Regions from separate parts of the Homo sapiens genome. Here regions 1 and 2 are each linked to region 3. Evidence: promoter capture Hi-C in 16 types of primary human blood cells and fetal thymus (Javierre and others, 2016). All regions are on one chromosome and are shown on one strand. The core of a region is centred on a gene start or on the middle of the fragment in contact, and the rest is flanking DNA. Distances in the headings are between cores, read along the strand shown. Region 1 holds the start of SYNPO2 (synaptopodin 2). Region 2 has its middle 14 kb from the start of SEC24D. Region 3 holds the start of METTL14 (methyltransferase 14, N6-adenosine-methyltransferase non-catalytic subunit).

The links. The method cuts DNA at HindIII sites, captures the fragments that hold promoters and counts their contacts. A CHiCAGO score of 5 or more calls a contact.
Region 1: a fragment that was not itself captured here is called in contact with the fragment with the promoter of METTL14 in region 3 in 3 of 17 cell types (endothelial precursors, megakaryocytes and M0 macrophages); the score reaches 5.5 in endothelial precursors.
Region 2: a fragment that was not itself captured here is called in contact with the fragment with the promoter of METTL14 in region 3 in 3 of 17 cell types (fetal thymus, total CD8 T cells and total B cells); the score reaches 7.5 in fetal thymus.

Annotation. Positions count from the first base shown.
Region 1 is chr4:118,888,316-118,893,080 of GRCh38, reverse strand. It overlaps SYNPO2 (synaptopodin 2), which reads right to left and starts at 4,227. Exons shown (of 5, transcript NM_133477.3): 1 at 3,940-4,227. The coding sequence starts at 4,044. The HindIII fragment of the contact is 3,314 bases long and covers 782-4,095 here.
Region 2 is chr4:118,847,621-118,852,240 of GRCh38, reverse strand. It overlaps a transcript of SYNPO2 not described here. Among named protein-coding and RNA genes, the nearest start is that of SEC24D, 14 kb to the right of the region's middle. RefSeq lists an enhancer at 1,568-1,637. The HindIII fragment of the contact is 236 bases long and covers 1,767-2,002 here.
Region 3 is chr4:118,682,635-118,687,172 of GRCh38, reverse strand. METTL14 (methyltransferase 14, N6-adenosine-methyltransferase non-catalytic subunit) reads right to left here and starts at 1,781. Exons shown (of 11, transcript NM_020961.4): 1 at 1,573-1,781. The coding sequence starts at 1,638. METTL14-DT (METTL14 divergent transcript) reads left to right here and starts at 1,832. Exons shown (of 7, transcript NR_125930.1): 1 at 1,832-1,868; 2 at 2,706-2,765. RefSeq lists enhancers at 1,243-1,382, 1,563-1,822. The HindIII fragment of the contact is 9,570 bases long and covers 1,330-4,538 here.

The sequences.
Region 1 (4,765 bases), core at 1,189-3,688, 210 kb before region 3:
GAGCATTTATTCTCAAGTATACATATTCAAACACATTAAAATCTTTTTCCCCCTTTAGAAATACCTATGTTTCTGGAATTCTTCTATTTGAAACATTTTAAAAACCTTACTGATGGCACTAAGGGATAAGAATTATATTATCTGAAATGTGCTTTGTGTAAATAATACATTTTTATTCAAAATCTTAAAGAACACATATCCAATAATAGATAAGAATTATTAAATTCATTTTGGCCTTATGAAATGAAGGATTATACAATGTCACCTCAATTTTAATGAACAATTATTTGAAACTTTGAACTAAATTCAGTAGAACACATACTATAGTGGTGCATAAGATTTGAAGAAAAAATAAATTTCTAACTATATTAAAACATATAAAGGATAAACAGTCTGAACATTTTTTTCTTAATTATTTTCAAAATGTGAGTAATTTTTCAATTGCAGGTAAGATTTTTTGTAAAACAAAAATTTCTCCCCACTCCTTTATATGAGGATTTTTCAAAGTGATTTGCCAAAAGTATGTCCTGAGACAGGGCCAGATAAGTACATGTCCCAAAAGAGAGAGTTTCATAAAGAAGAAGTGCTCACATTCTTTTTGTAAAGCTATCTGCACACACAGTGGGGTTTTCTGTTTGGATAAATTTGTTTCTGTTTATAATCTCTTGAAAATATACTTTGCAGAGTGTTATGCTATAACTCAGTGTTAGAAATGTTTGCCTCCCATCACATATATTTAGAATATAAATTAAAAGATATACAAACATTTTAAAAACAAGCTTATGTTACTGATTACTTGGGCTTTTAAAAATTTGGTTTATTTTTTAAAACAAAACAGATTTTCGTGCCATTGAGCTTAACCGTCAATGACAAGTTTTGATAATGAATATTCCTGTTATTTATCTTTAAAATTTGGGGTTTGCGTATAGTTCAACCAGCTAACCAAATACTAAACATGTTTGAACATATCTCAGAAGTGACTAAATATGTCAATATAAGGATATTTATCGGGAATTATAAAGTTATTCAATTTTTTATTGTTCTTAATAACATTAGACTGTTTTTTTGCACTATTTCTGCCTGTTAGATTTTTACTCTATATAGAATTATGAAAAACCTAAATATGTAGATATTTCACAAAAAGCCAAAATGTGTTATTGTCTACAGAACTGCTTTGTAGCATTCCCATTTTAAGGAGCATGGTTCAAGCACTCGCCGAAATTTTCTTTTCTTTGAAAATTTAAGTTTTCCTTCAACTCCCAAATTAATTTTGTGCATGTTATTCAAAACTGTGAACATTTGATTTGACAGCAACCATCTCTCTAGCCTTTCTGTCTCTTTCCTTGCATCCAGCCCTAATAAGCTATCACCAGTCCTTACAAGAAGAGAAAGTTTATGCCCAAGCAACATTCACTTTGCCTTGAACACATTGAGATACCATGAATAGAATTGAATTGACTTAATATTTTAAATAAAATACAGTGATCCTAATGAGGCAATGGCCTTGATAACAGAGAAAGTGATAAGCGCTTTGTTCCAAGGGATTTCTCCCACAAATAATGCTAGTATAAGAAATCAAACATAATCATTTGAACTAAAAAAAGAAAAAGACCAACAAAAATTGTGCATTGCCACAGTAATTTAGAACTTACATCTTCTATAGATAGCTCTTTAGTCTTTTTAACGTATGGACAAAAGGTAGACTGTAGACTACAGTCTGTCTCTCTCTCTCTCTTGCACACACAAACACACAAAAATTAAGGCAAACTTCCAGATACTTTTATAATGATATTTTAAAATCTATAGCTCTAAGTATAGTATCACAAACTACAAAAGCAAAGCAAACATCTAGATGCCTTAATAATGATCTTTTGAAAACCACAAATGTATTGCTGGGTATTTTAGGAAGGATGATTTAGGGGGAGTGTAGGACTGGATTCTGACATAGCCTAACAACCTTACTGAATCCTGAAAATAGAGATGCCATTAGCAGAGAATCTCCACAGCACCCTTTCCTAGCAATCTGCTTCAGCTCTTCAGTGAATCGCCGCAAAGAGGTCCCACATTGAAATCGTCACATGCAGAACTCAGAAGAAACCCACTACCCACTCTATTCTTGAGGCCTGGCTGCCAAAGAGCCACCAGAGAACAACAGCACTCAGCCACTCTGTCCCCATATTTCAATTAGTAGGCAAGCGATTCTAAAACTGTACACTATCAGGATCGTAGAATACTTGGGCAAGACAGAGCTTCGTAGACTGCACAGTCCAATTTCTTTCTTACTTCTTTACCACCTAAGTTAAAATATTTGTCTCTCTCTCCCTACACACACACACACACACACACAGAGAGAGAGAGAGAGAGAGAGAGAGAGAGAGAGAGAAACCGATGAGACAGGAAGGGTGAGAGATTTTCCTAAGGCCAGGCTGCAAGTTAGATCAGAGCTGGAATTAGAACCCAAATCTCATACCTAGAGCCAGCCAACTGCTATTCTAGACTCAGGACAAATCTGCTTCAGTGTCATGAATTCTACATATGCTAAATTGGGCATTCATATTTTATCTGAGGTTGCCTGCTATTGACTCCTAAAGGAACCCAACAAAACCACCTTTCTGAGCCTTTAATCACTCTGCCAGTTCCAAGCTGAAAACTTAAGGCAAGTTACTTAACATCTCTGGGCTCTTTCCTCATCTAAAATTCATGGGTTGAACTGCAGACCTCGGAGGAACTTTCCAGTAATAAAAACTCTGCTTTTCATCTACTGTTTTATGGTTCATTCTTGATGTTTGCAATTTTCACTAGGTGGCAGGATTCCACCATCACATTACGAAAGGATTTACATATGATGCCTGGAAGCAAAAAGGAGTTTCAAAGAAACTTCTTTCTTCGCAAAGGACACTAAAAAAAAAAAAACGTAAAAGGCAGAGGGAAACAATAACTACAAAAAAAAAAGAGTAAAAGCCAGAGGGAAACAAACAATAACTACAAAGGCAATGGCCCATGTATTTCATAAAGATCTGTACCCATTTTTAATATAAGCATAAAATAGGAAATTAATCCCATGCTCTTGCATGTTCTTCAATACAATACTATAATTTGCAATTTGATGATAAGGTTAGGTAAAAGTTTGCTTAGTTTTGTGCATTTTAAGTTTTATTTTAGCTGAATGCCAATTAGAGAATACCAGATCCCCTTGGGCTAACCAGTAATGCAGGCAATCTAATGGCAATAAAAACTTAAAGCATTTTAAATAGTTATTAATGTGTTACAAAGTTACCTCTTAGTTACTCATAATATATTTAGATTATCTTCTAAGTTTATTTTTGAGATCTTGACCAAAAGAGTACATAAGAAGGAATACAGCATTTATTGGATTTTTGCATTTATTTGTCAAATCCTTAAAAGGGTATTCTTTTAAATAGATTTTATGACACTTCATCATACTTTTAAAATTATTGCCCAACATTGGCCTTTTCATGAATGCTGCATAATAAATGTCACTACCAACACTCTATATGAGTCCCCAAAATAGCCAAGCAAAGTCGTTATGCTGAACTGAGCGTTTCTCCTCTGCCAGAGCCAAGTGAAGTGACATCAAACAATAACTCAACTGAACATTCTAAAATTGCCTGGAAGAAACGCTCCCCAGTGTCTTGCTTGTTGTCAGAAGAACATGGTTAACTAGGCCTTTTCCTCAGCTGATAAATATGGCATTCTTCCCACCCACCCCTCATCGATTGCAAGTTAATTACATAGGATGTGGCCCATTACTCTCCAAAGTTTCTTAGAAAATAACTCACTTCCTAGAAAAATCTTAATATCCGCAGCAAAATCAAATAATACTTAGACTTCTGCATCAGAACCTGAAAACACCATCAGCAGGTTGCTTTCATTCCTTCCTTCCTAGCACAGAGCCGTGACACTTCGTTCAGGTCCTACCTTTGCAACTTGTAAGGGCTGCTTCTGCTCCTTGCCACCTTGCAATCTGAACCCCCAGGGCGCCCCTCCAGTCATGGAAATGCAGATAAAATCCCCTGTGCCCATGTTTTCCTTTTAGTTGGGCAGCATGAAGAGCTTGACGAGACAGACGAAGCTTGGGTGCGGTAGAGGATGCGCACTCAGCTTCGGGCGCCTGCCGAGGACGCAAGACTGGGTAATGCAGAGCGTCCGCCGCTGCTGCAGCCGCTGCCCCAGCCGCCGCCCCAGCCGCCTGCTGCGAATTTGTGCGGCTAATGGGCTCATTCTCAAGGAGGCAGAGGCGCTCGCAGCATCCAGGACACAGCCCACTCTTGCGTCACTCTCCTTTGCTCGGCCCACCTTCGAGGAAAGGAAAGCAGCTTCACACACAGGAGAATGTCCTCACGTGGGGCGAGATAAGGGAAAGGAGGACGGAAGGGAGAGCCAAAGTTATCTTGCACTAACAGATTAAATCCAAGCAGTTAATGGTATAAGTATGATTGAAAAACTTACATTTAATAATTCTGTAAATAGTAAAGGACACATGAAGGTTTAATCTCCACGCCATGAATGACGTCCTAAAATAGGAGCGTTGGGAATTCAACTACTAGAGGATTAGATTCTCTCAAATAAATGTTTTGAGACTTGCCACATTTATGAATGGAATAGACAAAAAAGAGTTAAAATGAGTTAAATTACTACTTTTCTGTCTGCATTCTGCTGAATTATTCCTATAAGAGGAAACAAAAGAAAGCACAAACTTTTTGTTAATAAACCTCCAGCTCTGAAAAGTACCTTTCTGAACCAT
Region 2 (4,620 bases), core at 635-3,134, 160 kb before region 3:
CCACAATCTCTCCAGGATCTGTTATTTTTTCTCTTTAACAACAGCCATTCTGACTAGTGTGAGATGGCAGCTCATTGTGGTTTTGATTTGCATTTCCCTAATGGTCCGTGATATTGAGCTTTTTTTATACGGCAAATCAATATTTTCTAAGTGACAAATGTGTGATGTTGCAAAATCATTCAAATTCACCAAATTGTATGATAGACCAATGAATTTTAATATAACAGTTAGAAAACTTTCTTGCTATGGTTTCAGATTCCACATTGCAATTAACCTCTAGGGAAAAAAAAAACTCTTGCTGAGTTTTGGTGTGGTATCAAAGAATATCCACAGTTTTCTGAAAAGACTATTAAAATATGCCCTTTCCCCCACCAACTACATCCCTGTATGAGAGTGGATTTTTTTTCCATACTTCCACCAAAATGGTACATCACAATAGATTGAATATAGAGGTGGTTATGATAATCCAGCTGTGTTCTATTAAGCAAGACATTAAAGAGATTTGAAAAAATGTAAAATAATGCCACTATTCTCACTACATTTTTCTGTTTTAAAAAATACAGTATTTTTAATCAAAATGTTACTTACATTGACATGCAATGACATTATTGCTATTTTAAATAAGTTAATAAATATTGTAACAATGAGTTTTAATTGTTTTATTCCATAATATCGATAGCTATATCTTATATAAGCAAAAGCACAAAACTCTTTGGGATCCTCAATCTTCGTTTTTGTTTTTTGTTTTTTTTTGAGATGGAGTTTTGCTCTTGTTGCCCAGGCTGGAGTGCAATGGTGCAATCTCGGCTCACCGCAACCTCTGCCTCCCAGGTTCAAGCGATTCTCCTGCCTCAGCCTCCCAAGTAGCTGGGATTATAGGCATGCACCACCACGCCAGGCTAATTTTGTATTTTTAGTAGAGACGGGGTTTCTCCGTGTTGGTCAGACTGGTCAATCCTCAATCATTTTTAAGAATGTCAAGGGTTCCTGAGACCAAAAAGTTGTTGAAAGACTGTCTTAAATAATGTAATTGTATTCAATTTCATGATGCTGGGGTTACTAGGACAATGTGAGGAAGAAAGATCGTGATAACAGTCAGGAAAGTTCTGACGAAAGACCTGGTATTCCACTAAGACTCTGAAAAGTGAGTAGGATTTTAAAACTCCTTTTGAAAAGATGAAAGGTATGAGTAAAAGCTGAGAAACAGTGAAGCACCTGATATTCGCAGGCAATAATGAGTAATGAGTTCAGGTGATTGAAATATAAAGAGGACACCATTCATCTCTGCTTCTCTTCCTACCTGTGTAACCATTCCTCTTGTCTCATCTCTTTTGTGGGAGGCTTTTCTTCCTTTCTCATTCCTCAAATATTGATGCTTCCTGCAGTTCTGTCCTTGGATCTCTCTTCTCACTCTATATGACAGTCTCCCTCACCAATCTGATCCATCCTCAAGATTGGAGCTTCGCTTCCGAGTTGCCGAATTCAGATCTTTACTTCACCTTCTCTCCTGAGCTCCAGAGCAACATGTTCTGAATATTTTGAAGGCAACAAATTGAAAGTGAAACAAACGTTTTCCTGCAAAGCACTCTCTTCCTGTATCCTCTTTCTTGGCCCCTCCCCACCCAGCACATCACCTTAGTTTCCATTCTCACCTTCCTCCACCTCATACATTCAATTGGATGGCCCTCTATTAACACTGTTCCTTGTTTTTTTTTCTATATTATCGTGCTGTTTTCTTAGTTCTTTTTGCCCTAGTCTCACAAGCTTCCATTCCATCCTCTACATTGCTGCCAAAACCAATAGTACAAAAGCAACAGATCATGCTGTTTTCCTGTTTTGAAACCTTTTGATGCCTCCCTCCAGGATAAATCACTAACACCTCAATGGTACTTAAACTGCCATTCATTATCTGGCCCTTGATTACATCTTCATACTGTTGCTTGGTGGGGCCCCTCCTCAGCCATGACAAACATGTTCCTTGCTCCTGCCATATCAAAAAGCTTGCAGTTCCCCCTAGATCTCCAGGTTGCTTTACATTTCTATGCTCTTGTTTAGGTGCTTTCTCTTCCAGGAATGCCCTTTCCTGCTCTACCAACAAAGAATAACAATCACTTTCCGGATTGTTCTCAAGATGTTTTCTCTAAGAACCCATCTCTTCACTTTGGGTTAAACAGTATATTTAACTTATTTTAATACAAACATCTTGAAAATGATTACAAAATGTCCTCAATTTAGGAAGATTCCACAAAAGTGATACAGTTAATAAAAATCATACTTTGAATTTTGAATTTTGATTTTTTCCCAGAGTGCGATACACAGTGTAATGCTACTCTCTTGCAGGATGTTGGGCAGTGGCAGTAAGTTGCAGCTCCCAGTTAGCCAAATGATCTTGAGGTTAAACACCCTGTAATATACAGTGTACTGTGCTGCTAGATGATTTTGCCCAACTTTAGGCTAATACAAGTGTTCTGAGCACATTTAAGGTAAATTAGGCTAAGCTATGTTTGATAGATTAGTTGTCTTAAATGCATTTTTGACTTATGATATTTTCAACTTACAATGGATTTATCATGACATAGCCCCATCTTAAGTCAAGGAGTGCCTGTATTTGCATTTGAAATCTATTTCTAATACTATTTTAATCCACTTCTCCTCTCTACACCCAGAGAAGATGAATTCTCCTTCCAAGCACAAAATACTACGGTATGAGGCATTTTATGTAGACTCACATTATGTTAAATAAAGAGCAAAGAAAACCCAAATGTCTCACAGAAAGTACCAAATTTGGTATTTCTTCTTACATTCCAACATATAACCTGGCAAACAAAGAGTTAGGGTTTATAAAACACAAGTCCAGTATACAAAGCATGTATTATGCCCTTTAAAAACTTGTTTCACAAATTATTTAATATTGCTAGAATTCCTTGAATATTATGCAAATTTAGTTGTTTTTTTTTTTTTAAGAGATTTGACATTTCTTTAACAGGGATGTTGTTTTGTGAGGTTTCTTTCCCCAGAGCCAACTTTCTAGTCTTTTATTTTAACATAGCTGGTCATTCACAGTTCTTTTGAAAAAGGATTAAAATTCTTAAGACCAACATCATGGCCCTATTTGCCATCCCCTGAATTCAAGTGATATCAGTGTTAGTTACAGATAAGCCTGCCAGAGACTTACTTCATGATTGGCTCAAATCCCCATAATCAGTGAGCCCTTGCAGTTTTCAGTGAAAAGTATAGAAACTTGGAAGTGTGTTTTATGAAAAGGGTGTTTTAGAAAAAATGGGATATTCTTAGTTTATAAAGCACCTTCAATTAATTTATCTACACATGACATTGCATATGAACTCGTAGTGATCTAAACTTCATTAGGTTTTCTAATTCTAGTACTAAAAATAATCTATAAGAAGAATTTTGTCAAATAAAAGATTTATAATAAGTGATATAAGCAAGGAGGTTGTTCTCATACTTAAATCCTCATTGTGCTCTGTTTTCCTGGTCTTAAAGGCAGAATGCTGGCACAATATTCTTAGTAAGGTGCCTAGAGATCACATCAATAGGTGTTGCCTAAACACAGAGCCAGAGATAACTTGTTCAAGGCAAATTTGGGCCACGTACAGTGGTTCACGCCTGTAATCCCAACACTCCGGGAGACAGTGGTGGGAGATCACTTGAGCCCAGGAGTTTGAGACAAGCCTGGGTAACATGGCGAGACCCCAGCTCTACAGAAAATTTTTAAAAATTAGCTGGGCGTGGTGTTGCGCACCTGTGGTCCCAGCTACTTGGGAGGCTGAGGTGTGAGGACTGCTTGAGCCCAGGTGGTAGAGGCTGCAGTAAGCCGTGTTCATGCCACTGTACTCCAGCCTGGGCAACACAGCAAGACCCTGTCTCAAAAAAAAAAAAAAAGACAAATTTGGACAGAGATGTATATAAATTACTGAGGAGATGCAGAATATTCATAGTTTTTATAGATTTTATCAATAGGATATTATCTTACTTTTAGAAATGATGAATGATACTTCTATATATAAAGACTCCATGTCTATCCATTCATCCTAAGAGCAGAAACAATAATCACAAAGGCAGGGGAGGCATCATTTATTTGCTACTGGGAGGATTCAGTGACATTGGATTTCTAGTAAGCTTGTTATGGTCATGATGCTTTTCAGTAACTTGTAAGCACTATATTCATGAAAGCAGGGAGCTGATTTTTTTAAAAGGACTAGTAGAGGAAGACAAGAAATAAGAAAACAAGACAGAAATTACAGAAGAAAGAAAGAGATGTGAAAATCATCTGAGAAATTAGTCAACATCTGTGGAGACTATATAGGAATATAAAAGTTAGGGTCCTTAATATTAAGAATAAAAAATATTAAGACTTGCTGAAGGCTGGATGTGGTGGTTCATGCCTGTAATTCCAGCATTTTGGGAGACTGAGGCAGGAGGATTATTTGAGCCCAGGAGTTTGAGACCAGCCTGGGCAACATAGTGAGACCCCCATCTCCACAAAAAAAAAAAAAAAAAAAAAATTAGCCAGGCAAGGTGGTGGGCACCTGTGGTCCCATCTGCTTGGGAGACTGAGGTAAGAGGACAGCTTGAGCCTGGGAGTTTGAAGCTACAGTG
Region 3 (4,538 bases), core at 532-3,031:
TTTCAGATAAGAGATATTCAACCTGCAATAGCAATAACTAAAAAAGGCAGATAAGACAGTGTTTGCACAGGGTTGTGGGTACCATGTTAAACATTTTGTAGGCATCAGCTTATATAACTTATTTATTCTATGCTCTAATAAAAATCGATCCAGTTTTACTCAAGCTAAGTCTTACTATTTATAGACACAAGGCTGAACTTTACTACCTTAAAATGGTAACATAAATTTTGTTTGGCAGTTTGGAAAATTTTGCAAAATACAAACAAATGTAAACAAATAATGGTTATAAGGCTGGCTAAGTAGAGTGCAACCAATTCATAAAAGACTTTAAAAGGTAGAGCCCCTGGCATCTGCTGAGTGTAAAACACTAAACAAATAATTGTCCTATGAATGTATATTGAGTCAAATAGAAGTTTGAATTCAATATTAAGGAGTAAAACGTCTTCTGTGGTAGCAACAAAGAGCTACTTAACATTTTTGAAGATAATACGATAAAAGAAGTTGGCGAAAAGAAGACTTAGAAAGGATACTTGATTTGCCCAAGATCGTAATGCCAGCGGGATAAGGAACAAAGGAACAAATCTGACTCCAAGTTTCCACGGTTTTAGCCATATTCCACAAATCTGTTCATCAGACCATAAAGAGGATAGGTTTCAGAAGTCCATTTACTAAAACCAAGTTTCATTACTGAAAAATAACTGCAAGATGACTAATTACACTCTATGAGCATTGCTCCTATCACTTTTACTGATCTGAATAGTAGAATGGAAAATACAGCCTCGATTTTAAGTAGAACTGTGCACAATCTGTATTTTCTGCATGTGCACTCTACTAATCAGCAAATGTTAACTTACTCATACACAAGAAAGAAGTGAAGGACAATGGTTTAGAAGACAAGCTTTGGGGAGACAAACCTAGGTTCTATTTCCCAGCAGAGAAGTGAGCGACCAGGAGTAAAATTCCTTAACGTATGGAGCCTTTTTCATTACTTGATAAGTGAAGGTAATAATACCTGTTTCAGGAGATTATTGTGACTAACACAGAGTAAGATTTCAAATATTAACTGTGGATGTGACAAGGATACTCTATATAAGATGCAGAATCTAAAATTTACACTCAGGCTACTTCCAGTGTTGTCTTCAGAAAGATGTCAAAGAAAATACTGTAAACGTATTTCATAATGAAACCACAATCTCAAGAATTTGGGGCTGACGACGAAGAAAAGAAAGAAATAGATGACCATTTAATAGTGAAGAGAAATGTAGGGGATAACATGACACTCATCCTGGCGTGAACATGCCAGACACTCGGTGGGAGTTCCACAAAGCTTAAAGGCTAATCCTGGCATTCGGTTTAGCACCACAAAGACCGCGGAAGGAACTGGAAAAACATTCGGGACACCGCGAAAATTGAGAACTACAAAGGCAGAACCAGGGATCAAGATCGCAGGACCAGAAAGGCCTTAACAGCGGCAGGTAGAGAAGGGACAGAAAAAGGCGGGGTGTGGAGGGAGGAGGCGGCCGCGCACTCGCATTCTCGATCCCTCCCACAGGGGACACCAGGGCCGCGGACCTGCTGCGCGAGGAGCTGTCGCCGTAACTTCTGCCGCTCCCGGATCTCCTGCAAGCGGCTATCCATGTTCCAACTCCGGCTTTTCACTATCCCGAGTACTTGTCAATCTCCAGTGAACTCTTATCCAACCTTTCTTCCGAGTCTGTGGAACAAAATTCACCGGGAGCTTACGAACAGAGTATCCTCATAGCTTTCCTCAGTAGAGACTTCCGGCGCGGCCGGAATTGGCTCGCTTGGCCCGGAAGTCCCGCCTCCTTCTGGACGCTTGCTATGTGACGCCACTTGGAAGGGACCCAGTAAGGGATCTGTTGCGCCACAGGGGTCTCCAGGGCCCTCGCAGGTTGGGGTGGTCTGAGCTAGTCTGAAGGAGGACAGTCAGCTGACTTCTCCTTTATCTCTCTTTCCCAGGATAGCAGGTTCCCTTGGTGTATTACAGTTTCTGAAGTGTTGATTCCCTTTTCAATTGATTCCACAGATGACAGTCCTGACGTTTAAAAAATTGCCAGATAACCTTTAATTTTTTTTTTTTTAACAGAACACAAACTTAAGCCAGATTGCCTAGGATTGAACCTTGGCCTCTCACTTCCTAGACGAGTGGCCTTGGCTAGTTAACCACCTTCGTGAGCCTCAGTTTTGTCATCTGTAAAATGGGAGTCATAAGTGTCTACCTCACAGAGCTGTGATTGAAAGGATAAATAGCACCTTGCACATAGCGGTGTAGAAGTGCTTGTTATTGTTAATATTTTATTTACCTTCACGCAGGTAACAGCCACAACATCTGCCCACTCTTCCCCACACCTTACTGTCCCTTGAAATGTTTCCCATTTTACTATAGTATGCATTTTTTGGCTTCTTCCCTTTAGGGAAATGAGTATGTGATAGTAAAGCGTGTCTTGGTTTATGTCCTAGGAGTCAGAAGCTAAGAGACTCCTTTTTGTGCTTGTACATTTGTCTTAACTGAAAATAACCCAAGGATAAGGAAACAAATAGCTTCCTGAAATTACTCGGATTGCGGGGGTGAGGGGTGAGGGCTGGGGGGTGGTGATTCTGTCTTCATAGGATGGCAGCAAAGGCCAAAGTCTTATTTGAGTTATTACCATTATTATTCACCACACTTGCCATCTTATTTCAAGCCTACAGTGGCGGAAGTGGAGTAAGACATCATGTTGCCTCAAGTTTAATTGGAAATCGCGGTAAGTACTTAACAAAATTAGTAATAAGTCTGTTCTTTCAGAGTAGATTTAATTTTCAGAAATAATATTAAGTCATCCAGATCAAAACCAGTTGAGTCAGGCTGGGCCAAAAGTGGGCAAGACTAGATTCTACTTAGTCATGCCCACTTTTATAGAAATAATTATAATGTATTTCCGAAGAACTAGGTCTGAAAGACAATTTTGAACAAGTAGTCCTAAACAATTCCTTGAGTAATGTCAGCACTACTTGGATACTGTAAAATATTTATGTCCATATGAGTTAAAGTGTATTTCTTTAAAAATCAGTTGTATTATCTGGCAATCATTTAAGTTGAATACTGATTTAAATTTTACCAATGGTGAGAATAGGCAATTATTCACTTAAATATCTGTTGATATTGATTGAGCATTTTATATGGCAAGCACTGTGATAGGCCCTAGAGTCTATAAAGTCTGTCAAAGATTAAAAACTAAAGTCGGTTTTTCTTTATGAGTTTACTGTCTAATGGAGGATTTTTCTTTTTCCTGATAAGTTGCTATGCAGGTTACTTGCTTGTAATCTTTGAACCCCATACTCACCTACCCTCTGCTTCGAGATGATGGCTAGGCAGGGAGTCCACAAACTACATTTCCCAGCCTTCCTTGTTAGATGGCTTCCTGTAAGACTCTGCCCACAGGAGGCACAGGCAGGAAATCAAAAGGTGGAACATGGGAAAGCTATTGTCCATTTATTTTACTCTCTGCTTCTGGCATCTAGAGCGATGACTATGTCCCTTACAAAGTCTAGAGCCAGTTGGAGCAGCCCCTCCTTTCCTTACCTTAAGAAAGTGACACCCTTAACAGTGAGTGAGTTTGCTCTTGTGCTATGATACTACTACTTCTACCTTCTGTTCCACCAGCTCAAGGACTGGTAGCCATCCTGCAGTTTAAAATTTCTGATTTAATCTTACTTCTCCCTTTTTGCTCTTCTAGCCTTCAATATCTGCTTAACTATTTCTCCATAGTGAATGGCGTCTGTTTAAAATACTTTTAATTATTTGTTTTCCTGCCTGGAACTGTACTGATGCAGATATGTACTTCCATGTAATATTTACAAAACTGTTGGAGTTGGGCAGAGGGTTGTTGCAGTTTGTACAAAGAAGGGGATATAATTTTGAAATCTCTCTCCCAACTAATGAATTTTAAAACACCAGACCACATCAGCATACTTGTAGAGAATTTTACAAGCCCATCAGTAACATCTGTTCATTATGACAACATAAAGGCCACTAGGGGGTGTGTGTGGCAGGAAGAGGGGGAAGAAATTTCGGAAGTCCTCACATAAAATCCATACTTTTTGAAGAAGCAATTTACTTCTAGGCACTTAATTTAAGGAAGTAAAGAGAGATCCACATTATAACTTATGCATCTCTCCCCAAGCTCCTGGAGACTGACTCCTCCAAACCTATACTCTACAACTCATGATGCTCCCCAACTTATGATGGGGCTATGTCCCAATAAATCCATTGTAAGTCAAAAAATCGTTAGGTGGGCCAGGCGCAGTGGCTTACGCCTGTAATCCCAGCACTTTGGGAGGCCAAGGCCAGCGAATCAACAGAGATCAGGAGGTCAGCCTGGCCAACATGGTGAAACCCCATCTCTACTAAAAATAAAAAAATTAGCCAGGCGAGGTGTTGGGCGCCTGTAATCCCAGCTACTTGGGAGGCTGAGGCAGGCGAATCGCTTGAACTGGGGACGCGGACGCTGCAGTGAGCTGAAATGGCGCCATTGCAC